2 separate regions of the Homo sapiens genome follow, and region 1 is linked to region 2. Evidence: promoter capture Hi-C in 16 types of primary human blood cells and fetal thymus (Javierre and others, 2016). All regions are on one chromosome and are shown on one strand. The core of a region is centred on a gene start or on the middle of the fragment in contact, and the rest is flanking DNA. Distances in the headings are between cores, read along the strand shown. Region 1 overlaps NXPE3 (neurexophilin and PC-esterase domain family member 3). Region 2 holds the start of LNP1 (leukemia NUP98 fusion partner 1).

Evidence for each region. Contacts are between HindIII fragments. The CHiCAGO score rates a contact against its expected background, and 5 or more counts as called.
Region 1: a contact is called between a fragment that was not itself captured here and the fragment with the promoter of LNP1 in region 2, in 1 of 17 cell types (fetal thymus). The highest score is 5.5, in fetal thymus.

What each region holds. Positions count from the first base shown.
Region 1 is chr3:101,779,758-101,785,525 of GRCh38, reverse strand. It overlaps NXPE3 (neurexophilin and PC-esterase domain family member 3), which reads right to left. Exons shown (of 8, transcript NM_145037.4): 2 at 3,236-3,416; 3 at 2,746-2,866; 4 at 1-124. Among named protein-coding and RNA genes, the nearest start is that of NXPE3, 3.4 kb to the right of the region's middle. RefSeq lists an enhancer at 5,593-5,642. The HindIII fragment of the contact is 3,390 bases long and covers 1,486-4,875 here.
Region 2 is chr3:100,398,177-100,403,884 of GRCh38, reverse strand. It overlaps LNP1 (leukemia NUP98 fusion partner 1), which reads right to left and starts at 2,346. Exons shown (of 4, transcript NM_001085451.2): 1 at 1,446-2,346. It overlaps TOMM70 (translocase of outer mitochondrial membrane 70), which reads left to right and starts at 2,796. Exons shown (of 12, transcript NM_014820.5): 1 at 2,796-3,259. The coding sequence starts at 2,936. RefSeq lists silencers at 2,328-2,407, 3,018-3,097 and enhancers at 2,468-2,557, 2,568-2,617, 2,668-2,777, 3,459-4,378. The HindIII fragment of the contact is 4,606 bases long and covers 498-5,103 here.

The sequences.
Region 1 (5,768 bases), core at 1,931-4,430, 1.4 Mb before region 2:
CTTTTCTGAGCTGCAGATGAGCTTTCAGTTTCATTTGCTTCTATCCTGCTAGTACCCTTAAGAGCTCTTATGCAGAGGAGAGACTGCAGTTGATTCAAGAAGCACATTTTTCTTCAAAGAAATCCTTCAAAGAGGAGAGATGAGAGAACATCACCAATTGCAATGGCCTAGGGTGGGGTGAGAGGAAAAACATCACATTTCCTCTTCCTTAACCTTATCTAAGGCCCAAAGTCACAAGGAGAAAGCAAAGAGCCAGAGCACAGTAACGTCTTTTCATTTCCAGACAATCTCCTCAAAGTTTCCTTTCCCAGTGTCAGGCTTCCGTGTAAATACAATATTTCCCCTATTGCCTATTTAGGTTTTAACTTTTAAGAAAGTAAGGAAGTATGTCTTCAAACTCAGAAATTGTGAAATAAAAGTAACTGCTAAATTTCTACAGAGACCTCAGTCAATAAAATCACTTCCCTTCCCCTTCCCTTTAAGTTATGTAACACTGCTACATTAATTACACTTAAAGAACATGAAGAGGAAACTGTTTTCATGAAGAGCTCTGGGATACTGTGCAAAGCATCCTGACATTCTCTGGCAAACAAGAAGTGCTACCCCTCTCATACAGAGGTATGGCAGGAGACGCGACACACTCTTTAGGTTTCCAGCTCTCCCCACCACATATGTGGTCCTGATGCTCCCTCAGCTACATGATAAGGCACAGGAAGACACACACCTGCCTGGAAGATGTGGGAGAGGAAAGTCAAGCTTGAAAAATGGGTAACAGGATCCCAAAATCCTTCATCACACCTGCTAGAGGCAGAGGACTTCAGAGTCAGCAGTGCCTAACTGTTCTCCCACGTAACAAATTCAAATGCTCTTTCCACTTGCCATTTTGATACAGGTAAACAGAAAATGTCCTAGTATTCTATCCCCAGGGAGACTTTCCATGAAGGGCAGGACACAGAAATAAAGGCAGAAAGGGTACAAAATCATGGTGCAGAGTATCTCAGAATAACTCAGCTGCATCAACTCTCCCCTCCACTTTGTGTTGGACCTGGCAAGCCCCCATTCTCTCACTCCTCTGCCTCACCTGTCTGAACCAGTCCCAACCACAATGACAATGCCAATCAGCTTCACAAAGGAGACAAGGGTGAGCCATTCCAACAAGCTCTCCATCCTCAGAGTTCCCATAGCACTTATTATTTTCACTTCTCTGCTGATCTCTATTTGTATTTTTTTCTCCCTCATGCTCCCTCTATTTGTATTTCTTATCTCTCAAACTAGACTATACCAATTATGACTGTATTTTTTTAAAAAACCATATATCAGAGAAAAGCAACTTAATGATACTGCATTATACTTTTCTGATTTGCTCAAGGTACTTAGTTCTTTACATGGTACACAATGATTCAACAATCTATGCAACAAATAATTATGGAGGCCTACGCTATACCACACACTGTACTAAGTGCCAGAAATTCCCCTTGAAAAGCTTACACTCATATTAGACAAGATGTCAGCCCCTTCTTAAGGAGAAATAAATCCACCAGTCCTGGCCACCTCCACAGGGATGCCAGGAAATGTGAAAGACTGTGCTTCTCCATTTCCTGACACCTCCTCTCTCCAATATCCAGACACTCATCCACCTCAAACTGTCTATAACTTCTTGGAAGAAACTGGCTGTAAAATAGAGGATAACTCTGTCATCAGGGTCCCAACTGTTCTGCCATTGAAATCCTTCTCAAAAAGTTGTCCATAAAAAAAAAATCAGGTTTCCACAATGGCCAGAGAGGGAAAAGACCAAAGATGGTAGTCCACAGGAATTTAGTTGCACCATAGGCAGGTGTGGTCATGCATTGTGTGGACACTAGCCATTTAAAGGACATCAGTGTGGTTCAGCCAGGCAGCAGCAGCACACAGCTGTCAGTGATGCAGAAAGAAGGCAAGGGCAGGAGACTCTAAAGCAAAAGAACTACAGGACCAGAGGCAGCAATGCAAGAAGTCCCTCCCAGCTAGAGGCTTCTACTGACAATAATTTAGGAGGATTGTGCCAGGAAAAGACCTGACTCTGTGCTGTAAGTAGAGCACTGACATTTGAGAGACCCATTTGTACACCTAAATAGATGTTGCGTGAGGCACACTAGACAGACCTCTCTTTGAAAAGATATATACCAGGCCAGGTGCAGTGGCTCACGCCTGTAATCCCAGCACTTTGGGAGGCCGAGGCAGGCGGATCACAAGGTCAGGAGATCGGGACCATCCTGGCTAACATGGTGAAACCTTGTCTCTACTAAAAATACAACAAATTAGCTGGGCGTGGTGGCGGGTGCCTGTAGTCCCAGCTACTCGGGAGGCTGAGGCAGGAGAACAGCGTGAACCTGGGAGGCGGAGCTTGCAGTGAGCGGAGATCACGCCACTGCACTCCAGCCTGGGTGACAGAGCGAGACTCCGTCTCAAAAAAAAAAGAAAAGATATATATTAAAATTTTAATAGTTGTCACCTCTTGGCAGTTTTTGTTTTCTCCTTTATCTGTATGTCCTAATTTTTCACCAGGAAATAAAAATCACAAATACAAAGAATAAAGCTGGGCCAGGCATGGTGGCTCACGCCAATAATCCCAACACTTTGGGAGGCCAAAACAGGAGGTTTGCTTGAGACCAGGAGTTTGAGACTAGCTGAGGCAAGATAGTGAGACCCCCAACTCCACACACACAAAAAATTTTTTTTTAATTAGCTGGGCATGGTAGTACGCACCTATAGTCCCAGTTACTCAGGAGGCTGAGGTAGGAGAATTGCTTGAGCCTGGGAGGTCGAGGCTGCAGTGAACCATGATCATCACACCAATGTACTCCAGCCTGGGCAACAGAGCAGGACTCTGTCTCAAAAAAAAATGAAATAAAATAAAGAATAAAACCAATTTCTAAAAGTAAAAATTAAAGATGAGACATAGCAGAAACAAAGCATTAAATCACATCTGTGAAATCAATTCAACTTAAACTGAAAGATTTTTAAGTAAAAGAAGAAAACTATTTCACGGCATGAGGTAATTGTAGTGTAAAAAAAAAACTGTAACAGGTTTTTGGTATTTTCCTATAAACATAAAACCTACGCATTATAACAGGAATGCTATTTGCAAGGAGCCTTAAAATCAAGTAAGAACAACAGTGTTGGCAGGGAATGATTATAGAAAAAAGTTCCTCAGATTAACCAAAAAAATAAAAATATATAATTCAATGTAATTTACCTTTTTTGGAAATTTTCCAAGAAGAGATGCTTACTGGAACTAGAAATTAGAAGTTACGTCTAACTTTCCTTCCAGCATGAAATTCTGAACTCAGGCAATTTTGACCAGAGGTCCTCATTTTTTTCATGCCACATGTGAAGCACACATAAATGTTTTTTACATTTCTATACAATTCTTCTTGCTGAAACAAAAATATGCATATGATATAAAGGTTAAAGATACTGAAAATGAAGTAAAGAAAAACATTAGAAATTAAGAGTACAATTTTACAGGCAAGAGAGTTATACATGATATAGTGGGAGGAGTGGGCATAGGAACGTTTCCTTTTCCTTACTAATAAAAAACAGTAATTTAAATAGTCTATTTAAATACATGAACTTCAACATGGTAAATCACTCTCAGACCTTGGCTGAAGGTCAAAACTTTATAAACAGCGATATAAGTGAAAAAATATAAACCAAAGATAAAAGCTCCAAATGTTATTTTTCTTAAAAACTATTATAATTATTTAGTTCAATGATCCAATGATCTTGTTTTCCCCTACAGAAAAAAGGGGTATCTGTACAGATCTAAAAGTTATTATTCAAGGAATCTAAACTTGAGTGATCCTGTTTTCAAATGTCAGACCACCACTTACTCATGCTTTATTTTTATAATATGTGCAAAGAACAAGCAAAAAGTTAAATGCATGCTCTGCCTTACATGTGGAACCCAGTATTTGTTGGAAGTGTTCTGCCAAATTTTTATTAAGCCTACTTCCATATCCAAGACTCATAGTGGCCAATCTAACTTCTTTATGGCCTGTGACAACAACCCCAGACTGCCATTAGGGTTCCTACCCCCATCTCACAAGAGAATTACAAAGCAGTCACTTACATCATTTGGAATTACAATTGTCAGTAACACAAATGAAATTCCTGAGTTCAATATTAAACAAAGAAAATCAGACAGCAACCCTATCCTCTGGGGAGCTAATGTTCTCAGGCAACCATTCCACAAAGATAATATATTATAGGACAACTGCATAGAAACTGTCCAGTTTCTGAGGCAGTCCCTATCCTAACTACTCTGACCTGTTGGCCAAATAAATGTAACTGTACTAGTCACAGCAAGTGTCTGGAACTTTAGTTCAGAATATATAGTTCAGAACAATAGTAAGAGACAAAAGCACAGATTTACATGGAAAATATCTACACTTAAATGCATATATTTCAAACTTTGCAAAGAGTAGCTGTATTTCATAGGATGCTGAGTAAGACCTTGAAACAGGGCAGGATCTACAGAATGAAGAACTGGAGACCCATCCAGGACCCTAACAATGATGGGTTAACCAAATAGGGTCAATCCTTGAAAAAAGATGAAGCAGGGGCAGTAGTCTGCAGGACTTGTTTCCACAGATTCCATTTCTCCTTCGTGTCCCGCAGCCTCACATGCACAAAGTGCTGACTCATCTGGACCTTCCCTTGCCCTTCTTCCAAAGCAGGGCCCCATGTATTCATGGAGGTTACATAGCAAGTGGAGAAGTAATAAAATCAGTTATATAAGTCACACTGTACTAAGTGCTATTTTTTAAATATTGAACACATTGATAGGTTGTGGTCCTCAACCCTGCATGAACATTAATAATCATCGTGGAAGCTTTTTAAAATACAAACAACTGGGCCCCACTCAAACAATTAAATCAGAATCTGTAGGAATAGGCCCAAGAAGTAGCTTTTTTTAAAAAGGTCCCTAGATGATTACAACATACAGCCAAGTGGGAGAACCACTAGTATAGAGTGGCCAGGGACTGTTATTCGTTTCAGTTGGTAAAAGGATGGCCTTTCCAAAATGATGTTTGAATTGTAACTTAAATTGTCAGGTCAGGACAACCCAATTCCCAGGCAATGGGGAAGGCTAACCCCACTTCAGTGATTTATCCCTTCGTTTCCTTTCTCAGTAACAAATAACAGCACTCTATTGGCCCCAAAGAGATTGTGAGGATAACAGACATGGAAAAAAAAATACTAAACAAATTCAAAGAAAAGCAGAACCCAAACACTACGGAGAAATAGTATACTGCTGCCTCCAAACAATTATCAGGGTCTGGGAGTCCTGCCAGTTTCAAATATATCCTGATGTTCCAAATGATAATTAACCACAGTGAGGAGCGGGGAGGCCCACCAAAGCAGTGTGATTCTTTATCTTTAGGAAATGTGGCAACAATCCCCCTTTAATGTAAATAATGAAAAGCAAAGAAAATTTACAATTTTGCACAAATGCTGCATAAATCCTGCCTCGGAACCCCTCTTATTACCACCCTAGTGGCCTTTGATCAGGCAGAAATGGGCAACAGGCCAGGGTCTCCATATCACACCTTGTAAAGTTACACTCGTTTCTCCCCATACGACCTGAATCTGATGTCCCCAAACGGCAGCTCAGTAAGGCCAGAACAGTCCACCGTGTGACAGCAGCGCCAGCCAAGAGGCAGCTGGTGCCCAGAGCAGCGATGAGCCGAGAGATATGAGATGGGCAGGGAGGCGTCGCCAAGTGC
Region 2 (5,708 bases), core at 1,097-3,596:
AAGGGACAGAATTACATCATTTTAAAACAATAAGGAGCCTTAAAAATAATCTAATCCACCCCTCCTCACATTATAAAGAAAGCAGAGTTGCCCATGGTCACACACACAACTCAGTGGTATTAAAATTTAGAATAAGAATTCAGGTCAGCTGGGCATGGTGGCTTATGCCTGTATTCCCAGCACTTTGGGAGGCCGAGGCAGGTAGATCACCTGAGGTCAGGAGTTCAAGACCAGCTTGGCCAATATACAAAAAATTAGCCTGGCATGGTAGCAGCCGCCTATAATCCCAGCTACTGGGACGCTGAGGGAGGAGAATTGCTTGAAGCCTGCAGGCAGAGGCTGCAGTGAGCCAAGATGGCGCCATTGCACTCCAGCCTGGGCAACAAGAGCGAAACTCCATCTCAAAAAAAAAAAAAACTCAGGTCTTCCACAACCTAGTCCATTAGACTATCTCATTTAACTGCCTCCTAAGATACAGATCAAAGGTGAAGAAAGCTTCTTCAGTTGAGTTCCACTAATCTACCAAGAAAAAGATAATGTCTATGTTCACATATACAGAACTTTAATTTTTTAGAAATGAAAGGCAGTATTTTACTTCTTTACTTTAAAATTTAGAAAAACTGAGAACTAATCATCAAATATCTATTGCTTTGTAACAAACATCAAAAGAACTTTAAATATTCTCTAATTAAATCTTTACTATAGCCTGAGAGGTAGATGTTTTCACCATTTCACAGATTAGAAAAACATGCATCAGATCAGTAAGGTCCCAAAGCCAGTAAGCGACACTCTATTTGGCTCTACAGTACCATCAATTAGGAAATGGAGGAGAAAATGAGAGAATAGCATAGGCTAGAGAATGGAAATGAGATGTTTATCAAAGTATAAAAGTAACCAGAACAGATTCGTTTACTAATGCCAACCTTAAAAATAAAGCCAAACAAAATCAGGCCTTTAGATAAATATTAATCCAAAAAATGTTTCAAGAAAATAACACCGATTCCCTTTGGAGAGGGGAACTGTGCAGCTGAGGACAGGGACTGAAGGAAGACTTTTCACAGTAAACTCTGTAACTTTTGGAGTTTAACCGTAACAGTGTATTGCTTACTCCAATAAATAAGAAAAAGGTTTAAAAAAAAAACTTCAAATATGTTTTAGTTCCTATCAAGTTTGTAATTGTTAGCACTCTACAATCCTCCAAGAGGCCACAGCAAAACTGAAATTTCAGAAAAAAAAAAAAATCCTAACTTGTGTTCTGAAAAAGGCAAGGCAGAGCTTATATTAAGGGGCAGAAAATTTGCCTTTGGGGATTGGGGGATCAGGAGGGGAGAAAAGCCTATTGCCTGCAACGATCAACTCAATTCCACTGCTATTTTTAGCCCATTTTTTTAGTCTGTTGCTAAGAAACCCTATTGCCTGAAGGCAATTTACTAATAGGAACTTACATGAAGCAGGAGAAACCGGTGATCCTGAAATTCTTTCCAATTAGGCCATTCTATTTTAATCAGTCCATTCTGGTGCCACTTGATAAAATATCTCCTTTCAATCTTTATGTAGCTCTACTGTGATGTTGTTGCACTTAACAGCAAAACAATCATTTATGAAATCTTAATGTAAGGCTTCTGCAAACCAGTATACCAGAAATGGAGAACCATAGTTCTGGACTCTGATTTTTCTATTAATAGTTGTCTTCATGAAAATACCGTGTATTCCAAACAATACCTTGCAAGGTAATTTTATATTTTAAGAGATCTGGTGCAGAGCATCGGAAAAAGAGTTGATAAAGCTATTATAGATAAAAAGCTGTGAACTGAAATTACGATTTGGGAATGAGACGAGAAGAGGGCTGAGACTGCTACTGCAAAACAACCCGGGGGGCGTGCGGATCAGAGCGAGATGTGGGCTGACGCAGAAATCAGCTCAAGATACAAATACGCCAAGAAAGGCTCGAAGCCGGCGGGAACCCTGACGCTTCGCATTTCTACCAACTCAGTTTAAGAAACCCCTAACAACGCAGATGTCATCGCTTCGTTAATTGGTGCCGACGATGAGCCACAGCGACCACGCTCAAACCGTTTCGACTGCAGCCAACCTAGATGTGCCATTTCCACCTAGTCTTCTGCCATCGCTATCTCCCCTATAACCTCAAATTCGTCCAAACTAAAATCTCGCTATGTTAGTGATAAGAAGTTCAGTGATGCAGCAGCCTTCTTCAGCGGTGAGCTCTTTCCTCACACATCTTTAAAAGTCCTTCTAATCCGTTGGTTTCTCGGGCACGCGGGCAGAAAACCGTGCTAACGGCCACAGAGGTTCAAGAGGTGCCAACGTGGCTATAACTGGAAAACTGGATCCGAAATCGACCAGTAAACTGGGTAGCTCGGTCTACGCCCCGCCCACCACCCTTGCTAGCCAATAGCCTTCACAACTCTTCTGCCACTCCCGCCCATTCCAGTGCTGTGCCGCTGCTTTTTCTTCCACTCGGATCTCTTGAGCGCCCTTAGCCCGCTGTATACGCGCCCCTCCTCGGCTTCAGTAGGCAAGAGGGCCATCTGCCCTTCTTTCCTGAAGGTAGAGGGGACAACACCAGCTACGACGGGGACTCCAGAAGTCCATCTCCCGAACAGCAGCGGGGCGAAAAGAAAGAAAAAGGGTTTCCGAAGACTCCTACTCACACCCACGCTTTCCCTTAACCCGGAAGTGATTTCCGCCCCTCCTCTCCCTCTTCGGTTGATACTGGAGGAGAAGGACGGCCAGGTCTGGCCCGGCATGCCCTGGGCTTCCGGTGACCTCTGGCCCTTTTCTGTCGTCCGCTCTCTCTGCCTAGCGTGCTCGCTCGCTCATTGCTTTCCTTCCCTCCCTCGGTCTTCCTTCGCACGCTGTTTGGTGATTGTGGCGCTCGCGACAGACAGGGAGGCGGTGGCAGAGGACACTTGTCATGGCCGCCTCTAAACCTGTGGAGGCAGCGGTGGTCGCAGCCGCTGTACCGAGCTCCGGGAGTGGGGTGGGCGGCGGCGGGACTGCGGGCCCGGGCACGGGGGGGCTGCCGCGATGGCAGCTGGCTCTGGCGGTCGGGGCACCCCTGCTGCTGGGCGCGGGTGCCATATACCTGTGGAGTCGGCAGCAACGGCGCCGGGAGGCCAGAGGCCGGGGCGACGCCAGCGGCCTGAAGCGCAACAGCGAACGGAAGACCCCGGAGGGCAGGGCCAGTCCGGCCCCGGGCAGCGGACACCCTGAAGGTCCCGGTGCTCACTTGGACATGGTGAGAAGCAGCCCCAGGCCGTAGAGGAGGAAACTGGCTCGTGCAGCTTTTCCTTGGCGGGTTGTGTCAGTGAGGGGGCTTCCCATCAGACGGAAGCTGCCAAGCGGCAGCACAACACTTGGGTTTAGGGAGACTCATTTCTGGCTGCCAGTGGAGGGCATAGAGTAGCTCGATGACAGGTTACTGGCATTCTTTGACAGTTTGCTTTTGGTTTCAGAAAAATCCTTTGCTTTTCTTCTCAGTGACACAGCATTTATCCCTAGTGTTGTAGATGGGAGTGGGGCATTTGCAAATGTGATGATTGTATTTAATAAGTGAAGGAAGCTAAATTCGATTAACAATTGGTACATCGTGATACGAACTGTTTCTGTGATTTCCAAAGCCTACAACCTAATCGCTAAGAGCCTTTTAATAATGAGCCACTCCCCCTTTTGGAGTGTGTTTTTGCTGGGGGTAAGTGGGCAACTACAGTGACGGTTAGTTGACAAAAGCAAAACAAAAACAAAAACGATTAGATGGCTTTCTACATAGAAAAAGAAAGACTACACAGGTTCTAAAGAGTGAAATGGTGTTCAGTGGCATTTGTTTTACAGCCTCTGAACTGTAAGCAGAACTGTCAAGCTCCCAAGGCTCGTCCTCTCTCAGCAACCCCGAAGCCCCCTTGGCTGCAAGCACTCAGCGCCCGTAACCTCTCCTGCCATGCCCCAGCCCCAAGGTGTCCTTTTGCACTCCGGACCCCTTGGCCTTTGTCAGAAAACGCTCTGCACTGCACTGTCCCCTCTTGCTGCACAAGAGTAGCGGCCACAGCAATGCTCACCAGGCTTGGTTGCACACAGCCCCCTGCCCCAGGTCCAGGCCTACACACACATACAAAAAAAAAAAAAAAAAAAATGGGAGTGACTTCTTAAACTTTTTGATTGGAAGCATCTTAAATTCAGTTTTTCCATTTCACCTGGAAATGTACATGACCAAGCCTAATATGCATGATACAGTTTCTCTGATGTGAGGCCAAGCATTGGATTATTTAGTGAACTGCTTTGTATGGTTTTGGTGAACTGACTGTTAAATCCTTTTGGTATCTGACAGCTGTGCAGAGAATTAGTCTGGCTGCATTTGACAATACTGGGATTGGGTGTGGTGGATTTTCTCTGGGTCTGGAGTTGTTCAATGGTAGTACCAGAGTAAGTCGAGGTCAGAGAAACGTTTGGTCAAATATCTCCCAGTTTTATACATAAGTATATACAGTTGGTCAAGTAACTTCTAATTGTATCCAAGTGTATACACTTAAATATGTATGCAAGTCATTTCCATATTATACTATTCAGGTTGAATTTTTTTTTTTTTTTTGAGATGGAGTCTCACTTTGTTGCCCAGGCTGGAGTGCAGTGGTGCGATCTCAGCTCACCACCACCTCCGCCTCCTGGGTTCAAGCAGTTCTGCCTCAGCCTCCGGAATAGCTGGGACTACAGGCGCGCGCCACCATGCCCCGCTAATTTTTGTATTTTTAGTAGAGACGGGGTTTCACTGTGTTGGCCAGGCTGGTCTTGAACTCCTGACCTCAGGTGATCTGCCCATCTTGGCCTCCCAAAGTGCTGGGATTACAGGCGTGAGCCACCGCGCCCGGGCGAAGATATTTTTACTAGGATGTCAAATTAGCTTTAAAGGAAGTTTTGGTGTAGGAATGAACAAACTAGTATCTGCAGTGTGTGAGGCATTGTGCTAGGCCATGAGAAAGCCATATGATCTTTCCTATGGGAGAGTGAAGCATTACCTATTTTCTAAAAGGTTTATGACTGGATAGTAGAAGAACTTATGGACTGTGTTAGAACTAGGATTTGTAAGCTTTATAGTGGGCTCTCCAGCATTGTCACTTTGGGAAAGTCATTTTGTCTCCTTGACCTTAGCGTCATCCCTGTAGAATAAGAGGATTAAAATATTAGATCTCTTCTGTTTCTTTCAGTACTAAAAATTGATGATTCTCATTATGATCATTTATAATAGCTCACTGCTGCTATTAAAAGTAGTTATCAAGAGGATTATTTGAATTAATTATCACTTGTCTTACATCAATTTTGGATGTCTGAAATTCTCCAGTCATTTTCTATTTCGTTTGTTAATTTAGTTTTAATCATGGAAGAATAGTAGGTAAAATAAAAGATCCAAAAAGTTCTCAGTTCTGTAAACATTAAAAATAAAGATAGTTTCTATACATGAAACTAAATTTTTTTTTTTTTTTTTTTTTGAGACAGCGTCTAACCCTGTCACCCAGGCTGGAGTGCAGTGGCACGATCTTGGCTCACTGCAACCTCTGCCTCCTGAGTTCAAGCAGTTCTCCTGCCTCAGCCTCCTGAGTAGCTGGGATTACAGGCATGCGCCACCATGCCTGGCTAATTTTTGTATTTTTAGTAGAGACAAGGTTTTGCCTGGTTGGCCAGGCTGGTCTCAAACC